2 separate regions of the Homo sapiens genome follow, and region 1 is linked to region 2. The links are contacts of gene promoters, found by promoter capture Hi-C in blood cells and fetal thymus (Javierre and others, 2016). All regions are on one chromosome and are shown on one strand. Each heading gives the region's core, a stretch centred on a gene start or on the middle of the fragment in contact. The rest is flanking DNA. Distances are from core to core; before and after follow the strand shown.

Region 1 (5,962 bases), core at 1,781-4,280, 1.1 Mb before region 2:
GACTGTTTTACCTGTTTTGTTCCATCTCTCTATATGTAAGCAGTCTCCATCACCACAACCCCCCAACTCCCACCCTTTTGCACAGACACTCTCCTCTCCTTGCACGGAACATATTTATACAAAAAACTTTCACATGTATCTGAAATTCAAATTTAACTGGGCATCCTGTATTTTTGTTTGCTAAACCTGTTAGTCCCAGAGGGCCAACCTAACTTCCATGCTCCCGGCCTTCAGGTGACTGTGCTGCAGCCCACGTTCTCTGCCCAGCCCTGGTTGTGTCCCTTCCTTGGAAGAGGTGTTGATCTCTAGAAACCCCCCCCAAAAAACTTTCCTGTTGCTCATCTCCATTTCAATCAGCTTCCAGGAACTAAACTTGCAACATCAAGCCTCTGCTTTATTATTTTCCTGGTTCTAAGATCCCAGAGGTCCCCACCCACACCCGTGTAAGCCCAGTTCCCAGAGCAGCCTCGATCCTGGCCCCAGGGCCTGGGGGTGATTCCAGAGAAGCCCCTTTGAGGGATTACGGGCGCAGGACGCTGGGCCTGCGGGCCTCCCGAGGGCTCCCGCCCACCAGGGGGCAGTCTTCACCTGCGTGTGAGCAGCTCCGGAGGCCCGGGCAGGGGAAGGGGTGGGCGCAGGGATAGCTCGCTGGGGGAACCCATGCGGGGCATACGTGCGTGAGGGCACGTGAGGGCCGTGCCGGCCAGAGCCCAGCGTGCGCGGCCTTGCGTGCGTGCACACGCATATGTGTCCAGGTGCCTACGCAGGTGCCTGACCCTGGGCAAGTCGCTCCGTCATGCGGACCTCAGTTTTCTCATCTGTCCGACGAAGGTATCTTTCCATCTCTGACTGTCGGTGTTCTTTATCCAAGACTGCTCAGCACATTGGGTCCTCTCTTTAGAGCCATCTCTGTTTATTGAACAGAAGAGGCAGGGATTCCAGGCCATTGAATTGATGCGGGGGGTGAGTGGGAGGAGACAGTGAGGCACGGGGGGTTTTTGTCTTTTGCTCCCCAAAGCAATACTCTTTAATTGGTTTCTAAATATTTGTATTTTTATTTTTTACAAAACTGTATTTCAAAATAATGTGAGTCTTTAAGTCCTATGCAAAGCTACCAGAATCCTTGGTCGTGCTTCCCTACTCATTTGCAGGAATCCGGGCAGAACATGAATTCTCAGAACTGGTGGGACTTTCCAACCAGTTGCTTCTCATGCAGAGGCAGAAAAATGAGGGGATCAACAGCCCAGGCCTCAGGGGCACCCTTCTTGGCCCTTACAGGTAATTTAATTGCTGTGCCTCAGAGTCTCTTCTGTAAAATGGGAATGATAATAGTACCCTAAGTGATAGTATTATTATTAAATATTGGCTGAGTGTTCCCAGCTTTGTCATAATACAGCTCTGTGACCTTGGCCCCTCTCTCAGGACCTTTGTTTCCTCATCAATAACGGGGAATGAAGCACTCATTTTGCGTGGTTGTGATGAACAGGTAGGTTGTTTGTGAAATCACCTGGTGGTACCTAGTAGGTATTAAATACCCATTTCTTTCTTGGATAAGTATTGCTTCCCAGTCAACACTTATCTTCCCTGTTGCCCTGGCCTCAGCAAGGTGACAGTGATAAGTCAACTGATCCCTTTCAGCAGAGACCTCTTCAGGACATCTGCCTTAGATGAAGGAGAGTGTAGGTGTTCAGGAAGCTTGGGGGAGATTGATTTACTTCCTGGAGGGCTTTTTGTTAGTCCTGAAATGTCACTATGTGGTTTGCTGCTTCCTCTGCCTGCGGGTGATGGGGTAGGGGTAGAAGGTGGAGGGGGTGCAGGTGTCTTGTTGGGAGCCCCTGGAAGTCACCTCTTTAGAGGGGCCGTCTCTGAGATACGACGATTCATTTTCTGTTATCCTTATATTTTTGTCTCTACTGCCCCCAACTCCCCCCATGTAAACAGCCTGCTCCTTTGAGATCCCTGCTTTGGGAGACTTGCTGCTGCAGGCCAGGGAGTAGGAATTGCTTTCTTTTCTTTTTTCTTCCTTTCTGGGAGCCTGAGTTCTTTGAGATGTGAGTGCCTTTGAGGGAAGAGTCCCGGAGGCAGAGCACCCTTTTCCCTGTCAATGCCCAGGGTGGGCAGGACCTCAGAGTGGGCTGACAGTGTGATGTGTCTGTGACTAGCTTTCTCTGGCACTGTTTGGCACAGAAGCAGCAGAGCCCCTGGGCTCCTGGGTACTGTGTGGCCTTGCATCAGTTATCTCAGTGTAACCAGTGGGGACAAATGGCCAGTGACCACGCATGCACCCCTTCCAGTGATGCTGGTGAGAGAGAGGATGGGCGGGTTCCATTAATGACCAGGACAAAATTTGCTGTCTCAGGTGGGATGGGGGCTCAGAGATGGATTTAACTTGACTTAAATAATTTTTTTGAAAATTATATTTCTCATATACCTGAAATCGTGGAGTTTGATTTATAGTTGCTATTTCTGAATTTTCCTTAGCACCTGCACAGCGTCTTGTATGCAGCAAGCACTCACTAAGCCCTTCTCCTTACCCTGCCAGTCTACCTATTAGACTAGCCCTGGTGTTCAGGACTTAAAGTAATGGGCCAGCTAGGAGCCTCCAGGGCTGGGTCTCTAGACTGCAGGTGCCATGAGATGGGTACTCCCAACAGTCCAGCCTCAGACACATTGCTCTGCTTGACAAAGCTTTGCAATTCCCATGAGTGACAGCACCAAGAGCTACCATGTCTTGAGAGCTTCTGATCTGCTGGCATGGTGTGAAGCCCTTAGCATGGTATCTCATTAGTTTTCACAGCAGCTCTATAAAGTCCAGACTACATTGTCTCTATTTTGCAGATGAGAAAACTGAGGCTTGGAAAGATGGCAGAGCCAGAATACTATCCCAGGTGGTTGGACACCAGAGTCACTCATTTTAAGCACTTAGGACAAGTGACTGATGGACTGACTGAATAAAGAAGGACAGGAATAATAAAGTTGTCAAATTGGGGAATGGCAAGACAGGATGTATTTATTTCCTGCCTTTGGCACCTGTCTTCAGTGACCCTTTCCCTCCCTTTTCCCCTTAGGCCCCACCCAGAGAGGCTGATTTCCAGTCTGTGGGGTCCAAGGGGGATTGAGGGTCCCCTGTCTGTGCCTTCTGGACCCTCTGGGAGCTCTTGGCTCTTGACTCTGGGCTGGGAGGCTGGAGCCCTATTGCCTTTTCTATCAGGGATGGACAGAGACATTCTTTTTCATTTTCTTTCCCCAATGCCATTTTGTTAAATCAGAAATCCTTGAGGAGTGAAGTCACATTTTCCATGCCCCTGAAAGCTCTGGAGAGCTGATGAGTGTTATTGTAACCAGAGGAGACTGGGGACAAAGGAAGCTTATAATTTTGTAAACGAGGCTTGGGAGTGCCCTGCCTGCAATGGCTTTCCAGAGGGAGAGGCAGAATTCGGAAAAACCAGAGGCAAGAAGAATGGCAGGACTGGCCAGCCTTGAGCCTTGCACCCAGGCAGAGACCCTCCTGCCCCCTTCTCCAGTTACTGTTTCCCAGCCTTCCCTGGGGAAGGAAGTTGGCTTGCTGAAGCGGCAAGATCTCTATGCTTAGAATGAAGCACGTGGGGTCACAGTGCCGGCTCATTCACCTCAGTTTCCTCATCTGCAAAATGGGCTGGTGAAGGATCTGCCCCAAAGAGTCTGCACTCAGCCTGGCGATGGGGCTGTGTTTCATAGAGAAGGAAACTGAGGCATGTGTTTTTCAGATAGGAAGTGGCAGAACCGGGATTTAGATCCCGGCAGTCTTACTCCTGAGTGGGAACTCCCACCCCTTGCTCCACAGCGCTTAGGCTCACCAGAGGCCAAATCATGTGAATCAAATGTGACCCGCGTGCTGCCACCTGGGGTCAGCCCTCTTTGCCCCAGCCTGGAGGGACAGAGGCTTCCGCTGGAAGGTTAGGCTCTTAGGTCTCTTCAAACCTTAACATTCTCGGACCTTCTCCTAGTGGCCAGACTCTGTGACCTACTGCGTGGGAGGGAAGCCTGGGAACAGGTGGCCTATTTCAGCCCCTCTCAAATGAGTTCCAAGCAGGTGGCTGTTGCTTCCTCTTGCTGGCCATGGCTTCTCACTAGGCTTGCACAAAAATGGAGAGAAGACCAAATAAAGCTCCTTTGAGGACAAATGTCTTGGACAGGGCTGGGGGTGGGGATCCAAAGATGGACAGAGCCAACCCCCAACCCTTGCAGGGCTCCGAGCCTGCCTGCTTCCAGGCTGCAGGTCTTCTGTGCAGGCTGGGGTTGGGTGTTCAGGGCTGATGGGGGCAGGCATGTGAGTGATTTGGGGAAAAGGGCTGTGTGGAGGGGATTGGGTCGTTCACACTCAGCCTGGGTCTGTCACTGAGCATGCGCTCCCTTCTCCCTACAATCCTGGCCCTAGTTATCCTACTTCTTTAGCCCTGAAGCCCTAAAGCTGCCCCCTCCAGCAGGTGGCCGAGATTTCCCAGGTGGACTCGGGGGTCCTCCTCACTCAGGCCAAGCTGCCCATGAGGAGCTGCCCATGAGGAGCTGCCCATGAGGAGCTGCCCATGAGGAGCTGCCCATGAGGAGCTGCCCATGAGGAGCTGAAGGGTGATGAGGATCTGCCTGTTTCCTCCGTGAGAGTTCCTCTTTCACTGGCGCAGGCATTGCCCTCCTCAACTTGTGAATGGAAACCCATTCCAAGGGGGGTCTGGCTTTGCCCAGGTGGGTTTGAGATCCCCTAACCCAAGCCGCCTTCATCTCCCCTCCAAAAGCACAGGCTCACTCACAAAGCTCATCTCAGCAGGTTCTCCTCACAACCATGGCTACACTCCTCTCCCTGCTGCCTTCTCTCTGTGTGTATGTCTCAGTGTCTCTGTGTCTCAGAGTCTCTGTCTCTCAGTGTCTCTGTATCTCAGTGTCCCTGGCTCTCAGTGTCTCTGTCTCTCCGTGTCTCTGTGTCTCAGTGTCCCTGGGTCTCAGTGTCTCTCTCATGTTGTCTCTGTCTCTCAGTGTTTCTGTGTCTCAGTGTTTCTGTCTCTCAGTGTTTCTGTCTCTCAGTGTCTCTCTCATGTCTCTGTCTCTCAGTGTCTCTCTCTGTCTCAGTCTCTGTTCCTCTCAGTCTCCCTCTCAGCATGTCTCTGTATGTGTCTCTCAGTGTCTCTCTGCATCACTCTCTGTGTCTCTCTCTCTATGTCTGTGTGTCTCTCTTGATGTGTGTCTCTCTTGCTCTGTTTCTCTCTCGGTCTCTCTCTCTCTCTTCCCCTCCCCTCCCTCTCTAATTTCATGGGACTTGTCTCAGTGTGAGGAAAGCATCTAATTAGTCTTAGAGGTCCTCCTGTCCAGAATTTCTAAAGCCGTGCTCATGACAAATGTCCCAGGCTTGAACGGGACATTTGAGAAACTCTGGGCCAAGAGGAGCAGCACAGAGCCACCCAGAGGATGGCTCTATAAAATGGGGTTACAATAGTGCCTTACCCAGAGGATTTGAGATAAACCACTTAGAACAGAATTCATGTGTGGAGGCCAATACAAAACATCACCAAAGTTAAGCTGCTTTCCCTCTCCTCTTCACTGTAGGGTGCTCAAAGCCTCTACTATGCTAAGGAGAACAGAGAGCTCCAAGAGGGTTGGTAGAGTTGCAGCATTTCCCAGGATTATTTGTCCAGTGAAACCTCTTGCCATGGAGCATCTAGTGGGGTCAGAGTTCCTCAAATCATAGTTGGGAAATATTGCTAATCCAAGCCCCTTATTACAAAGGGAAGTGGAAGCCTCCCTCCCCAAGTCCCTAGAGCCAACTGGGGCACACGGTCAGGAGGCTGGGCTCCTGCTGGGGGAGCAGCTGAACTTGGCTCCAGGATAGCACCCACGGGCCTCCTGTGGTGCTCCCAGGAGCCTTGGCAGTGTCCCTCTAGGGAGTGTCAAAAGCCCTGGGAGGCATGGGGTGTGCGCACCTTGTAAAAAT
Region 2 (5,840 bases), core at 1,550-4,049:
TTAATCAGTTAGATAAGCAGAGAGCTGTGAGGATTCGTACATAGATGCTTCTTGACCATCAGGAATGGTGGGGACTGTGCCAAGGGGAGAGCTCTTGTGCCTCTGAAGGGGTCAGCTGCCACTCAGCTCCAGCTGATTGTGGCCTGGCAGGAATGAAGGTCCAAGGTAGCTAAAGGGGCTCATTTCAAAGCAAAATTAGTTCTCAGACTTTTCCATGAATTCTCTCAATTTGAAAGTCTTGGCAAGTAATTCGAAATTCAAAAAAGAAAAGAAAAACGTAGTACAAAGCACACCCAGCATGCTGATAAGCTAGATGTGAATATAGGATTGGTACTGAGTCCTCTGGCATAGACCTTTTTTTAACAGTAGAGGTATACGAAGGAAAGGGAGACACAGGCAGGGCACACCAGTGCAACCAGAACCACAGCTGCCTACCGGCTGACAAAGTGTGGTGTTGTCTGCTGTCCACCACGTGACAGGGTCTGCAACAACATCCCCTCCTAGAGTGAGGGAGATGTGTTAAGGTGTGAATAGTGGTTATCAGACATCAGAGAACATCTTCAGCTTTCCAGAAGCATATCAGGAAGGAGCATGTCCTACACTTTAAAGGATGCTGTAGCCCAGGTGTGGTGGCTCATGCCTGTAATACTAGCACTTTGGGAGGCCGAGGCAGGCAGATGACCCAAGGTCAGGAGTTTGAAACCAGCCTGGCCAACATGGCAAAACCCCATCTCTACTAAAAATACAAAAATTAGCAGGGTGAGGTGGCACATGCCTATAATCCCAGCTACTCGGGAGGCTGAGGCAGGAGAATCGTTTGAACCCGGGAGGTGGAGGTTGCAGTGAGCCGAGATTGCGCCACTGTGCTCCAGCCTGGGTGACAGAGCAAGATTCCATCTCAAAAAAATCAATAAATAAACATATTTTTTTTTTTAAAAAAGGATGCTATGAATAAGCCAAAAGCTTGCTGCAATTGTCAGAGGCATTCGAACAAGAGTGACTCCATCTTGAGTGGGGGCTGGGTAAAATAATGCTGAGACCTACTGAGAGGTCTCAAGAGGTTAGGCATTCTTAGTCACAGGATGAGATAGGAGGTTGACAGGACTGGTATCACAAGATACAGGTTATAAAGACCCCACTGATAAAACAGGATGCTGTAAAGAAGCCAGCCAAAACCCACTGAATCCAAGATGGCAAGGAAAGTGACCTATGGTTGTCCTCACTGCTCATTATATGTGGAAGTTACTCTATTTGGTCTAAAAAGGGGAGGAATCCTCAGTTTCAGGAATTGCCCACCTTTCCCAGAAAACTCATAAACAATCCACCCCTTGTTTAGCATATGATCAAGAAATAATCATAAAAATAGCCAACCAGCAGCCCTTGCGGCTACTCTGCCTATGGAGTAGCCATTCTTTTGTTTCTTACTTCTCTAATAAACTTGCTTTCATTTTACTCTATGGACTCACCCTGAATTCTTTCTTGCATGAGATCCAAGAACCCTCTGTTGAGGTCTGGATTGGGACTCCTTTACAGTAACACAATGACGCCCCACTGTCCCACATTTCTTTCTAATGGTCTGCCTTCTGCTGCCCTTGTGGAGTCCCGATTTTAGTGCCTATTTTGTGATTCTGGTTTTGTGGCCTTTCCCTCTCATGGCTTAACACCTTCTCTTCAGACCCCCATAACTGCCCTTGGCTTCCCTCATCAGCTCCAAGGGGGCCTCAGGGTGGACCCAGTGCTCGGGTCCAATGCAGAGATCCCAGGTTTCATCTTGTAGGTCCCGTGAGTCAAGACAGAGGATGGGATGGAAATGTCACCATGGAAAGAAGCGAACTTTAAGATCAGTAATTATTATAACAGCCATCAAAGAGTGGGAATAGAAGCTACGTCCTCAGAGATTCCCAGAAAGAGAGTCAGTGGACAATGATCTTGGTGGTTTGGTCAACTCAAGTCAAGAAGCGTCTACAAATAATCACACACCCTCCCCACTGTGTGCCTGGTGCCCCACGGTGCTTATGTCATGTACTTGTAGAATTCTTGCAACAGTCCCATGAGGTAGGAGTCAAGATTGTCCCCATATTACAGAGGAGAAACTCAGATCCATAGAGGTTAAGTCACTTGCCTCCAGACATTTATCCTCTTTCCAAAACTGGACCCAACTCCTGAGTGTGGCTCCGAAAGAGTGCTTTTCAAATCACCTCTGGCAAAGCACCCGTTTTTGCACCTTAGTTCATCACAGACTGACACTTAATACAATCATAAAGTGAATGACTAGCAAAACGATTAGGCGTTGGAAGGTGCAGAGATGTCAAATAGTTCCCGAAGTTTCTGAGTGTTCTCCGTCTCTATCGCTATCACGTTGTGGTGCAGCAACACACACTGCCCCAGCAGCACAGGCCACACGCACCTGGCGTAGCGCTGTGCCAATCCATCTCACTACACACTCAGGCTCTCAGGATGTAAAGTACTTTTGGGAACCACTTGTCTATATTCCAGCAGCTGAACTGTTCACCTCCATGGGTTCATGACTCTCCTGCCGCGTTTCTGGTTTTCGTGATTTTGGGAGAGGCACCCCGTATTGTACAGGAATGAGATTAATTCGCCCCTCAAGTCCCTTTCAAAACCAAAATGCTAGGATTCCATCTCCTTTTACAGCACCCCAGTTCAGCAGGACGTCTGCAGGGCCAGCTGATTTTGTTCTTGCATTCATTAATAAAAGTAGTGAATGCAACAAGAGCCACCCTTTTCTTTTCTTTGTCTTGTCTGAAAGAGGGCAGGGAGGGAGCAGGAGAGCCCGCAGACGCAGGGGACGTGTCAGACGTGCGACAGGAAGGGCTCAGCGAGGCGAGAGCGAAGCTGTGAGGAAGGAAGGCAGGTGGGCGGAAGGCGGGTAAGGGGGGCCAGGAGGGGGCCGGGTGGCCCCGCAGACAGACACATGGAACCAATCACCCCAGGCAGGGGGTGGGGGTGCACCTGAGAATTACAGAGACACCTGGCCTGCTTTCTGGAGTTGGGGAGGATTGAGAGCTGATGAGGAAGGGGGTTGATGATGGAGCAGGCTGGGCGGGAGGGAAGCACATGGGAGCTCACTCCGGGACCTTATTGTGATATCTGGACTCTTGGTGATTGGAGGGTGGGTACTTCTCATTGTTTGTACAGTCAAGGTCCAGCCAGGGAAGCAGGAGGGAGGGAGTTCGCTAAGTCTTATTCAGAGACTTTAATGAAGGTAATTGGTTACAGAGGTGCTAGAAAAACCTCCTTGGACTGGAGGGGTGACAACAAGAGGTGCTTTTTCAGAGCCCAGGAGCAACGGTCACCCTATTACAATACAATACAATTCCCTACTACAATTGTATTAACAATAACAGTTATTGTATTTAACACTAGTTAAATCTGAATTTCAAATAAATAACAAATAATTGCTAGTATTTTAAGTCAGTATAGAGTGCATTAAATGCCACAGAATTGTATACTTTAAAAAGGTTAAAATGGTAAGATTTATGTTATGTGTACTTTATCATAATCAAAAATGTAATATAAAAATGTATCCAGTTGGACCAGGCACGGTGACTCACGCCTGTAATCCCAGCACTTTGGGAGGCAGAGGCGGGTGGATCTCCTGAGGTTAGGAGTTCGAGACTAGCCTGGCCAACATTGTGAAACCCTGTCTCTACTAAAAATACAAAAAATTAGCCAGGTGTGATGGCACACGCCTGTTGTCCCAGCTACTAGGGAGGCTGAGACAGGAGAATCGCTTGAATCTGGGAAGCAGAGGTTGCAGTGAGCCGAGATCGCTCTACTGCACTCCAGCCTGGGCGACAGAGTGAGACTCCATCTCCAAAAAAAAAGTATCCAGTTTATCTGCAATTCACATTTAACTGGTGGCCTGTATTTTATTTTAAAAATTTAGTACTGTACATCTAGCAGGTACTAGAATGATGGTGGGGGCTGCCCCCAAGGGAGCTGCGGCCACACAGGAGTCAACTGCTGCCCAAGAAGGCAGGAAGTAGAGGGACTGGAGAAGGAGGAATGGCCGGCTTCTCCCCTCCTTCTGGTGGCCCTCCAGTGATTTACCAGTTCCTCCAATCAGCCACAGCTACCTGGAAGCCAGAGGGCAAAGGCACCTCAGAAATGCAGGTGCAAGGAAAGGACTGAAGAGCAAGCATGCAGTCATTTTAGATGACCCAGGAAGGCTTGACCTGCCTGGCTCAATAGCCACAGTTGTATTTTCTCTGCAGGCTGAAATGAAGCTGCAGGTTCAGTGGTGTTATCCCTGAGGTTCTTGTTCTCCCTACCCTGATCCATGGATAAGTAGTTACTGCTTGCTGCCAAGGATGAAGGACATGAACTCATGTGTGGAGCAACTTCTATGTACAAAGCTGCCCACTAGGAATCCAGGAGAAGTGCTTCAGTTGGGAAGTTCAGGATATGGTTCCCCAATGCCCATTCATTTATTCATTTATTCAGCATCTGCTTATGAGATAGGCATGGTCCACGGCAATTGAGTAGATGGTAGTATAGAAGGCAGACACATTCCACATTCTTAACGTACTTATGGATCTAGTCTGTTGGGAAGATTTCAAATGCAATGAGAATTAACTAAAATATAAGATGAAATGGTAAATGTAAGAAGAGTCTAGCAGAGCAGTGATGAGGGTGCACATGACCAAAAGAAAATGGACAGTATAAGTGATGCTCACAGAAGGTAGCTAGTGTCCGGCATGGTGCCAGGTGCTGAGGAACAGCAGGGCAGAACTGGGCATTTGCTCACCTCTCTTTCCAGGAGATCATGATGTTGCCCAAAAGAATCTCCAGATGGCAACTACAAATATCTCTTTACCATCTTGGCTTCTCATAATCCTGCAGGGAGGCCCTTGAAGGGAAGAGAACAGATTTGGTTGCCTAGAGCTCTTGGGTTCATGCCAGGTTCAGCCTCTAGCTCTGGGGGTCCTGGGGCCTCAGTTTCCCATCTGTGAAGTGAGGGGTGGCCTTGATGATCTCTGCCCCCACTCTGTGATTCCTCAGGTTCTGTGATGTCAGTACTTCTGTGTTCCAGATCTGCTTCCCTCTTACTGCTGACAGCTATCCAAGTGGCAGGAGCTACCATCAGTCATTTGTCACTCTGGAGCACCAAGCTCAAAGCTCCAAATGAATGACTGGATGAATGTATACAGGTCACCTTGTGCAGTGACAAAGATTCTTTGCTTGGACAAACTTCAGTTAGGCTTCTGAATCTCCTCTGAGATTCTTTCTTGTAAAATCCAGTTTTAGCAAAGAGCCCTGCTAAATCAGTCTAGCAAGAAGCTCCCTGATCCTTGAGATCTGGACACTGTTTCTAGCTGATCAGGTTCCTCATCCTCTACCATCCCCCAGGTGCTGTCTGATCACCCTGGCCTGTCTTCAGCAAGAATCCTGTTAGCTCTGTTTGGCCAGAATCCCCCTTACCTCTAATGTTTACTCTCAGTAATTTTCCATCCACTGACCCCCACCCTGCTCCTTGGCTACAAATCCCCACTTGCCCAGGTGAGCCCAGTCTCTCTCCCCTGCTGTGAGACCTCATTGCAGTGGTCCCTAAATGTATAGGGATAGTCCTGAGTAAAGTCTTCCTTACTCTGGTTTAGCAAATGTCATTGAATAATGTCTTTAACAGCAGGAATGTCTGAATATTGGACTGTGGCTGTTGCGTCAGGCTGGAAGGGTTGAATCCTGGTTCTGCCACTTACCATCTTGAGCAAAGTTATTTGAACTCTCGGGCGTGTCTGTTCCTTCATTTGTAAAATGGGAATAATAATAGTACCTAATAGATTTATAAGACTGAATAAAATCATGCATGTAAAACT

Evidence for each region. Contacts are between HindIII fragments. The CHiCAGO score rates a contact against its expected background, and 5 or more counts as called.
Region 1: a fragment that was not itself captured here is called in contact with the fragment with the promoter of LINC01280 in region 2 in 1 of 17 cell types (fetal thymus); the score reaches 5.7 in fetal thymus.

Annotation. Positions count from the first base shown.
Region 1 is chr2:217,751,337-217,757,298 of GRCh38, reverse strand. The region is part of intron 2 of DIRC3 (disrupted in renal carcinoma 3); the gene reads left to right. Among named protein-coding and RNA genes, the nearest start is that of DIRC3, 36 kb to the left of the region's middle. RefSeq lists a silencer at 483-652. The HindIII fragment of the contact is 679 bases long and covers 2,691-3,369 here.
Region 2 is chr2:216,603,897-216,609,736 of GRCh38, reverse strand. It overlaps LINC01280 (long intergenic non-protein coding RNA 1280), which reads left to right and starts at 2,799. Exons shown (of 4, transcript NR_110392.1): 1 at 2,799-2,875. The HindIII fragment of the contact is 10,190 bases long and covers 966-5,840 here.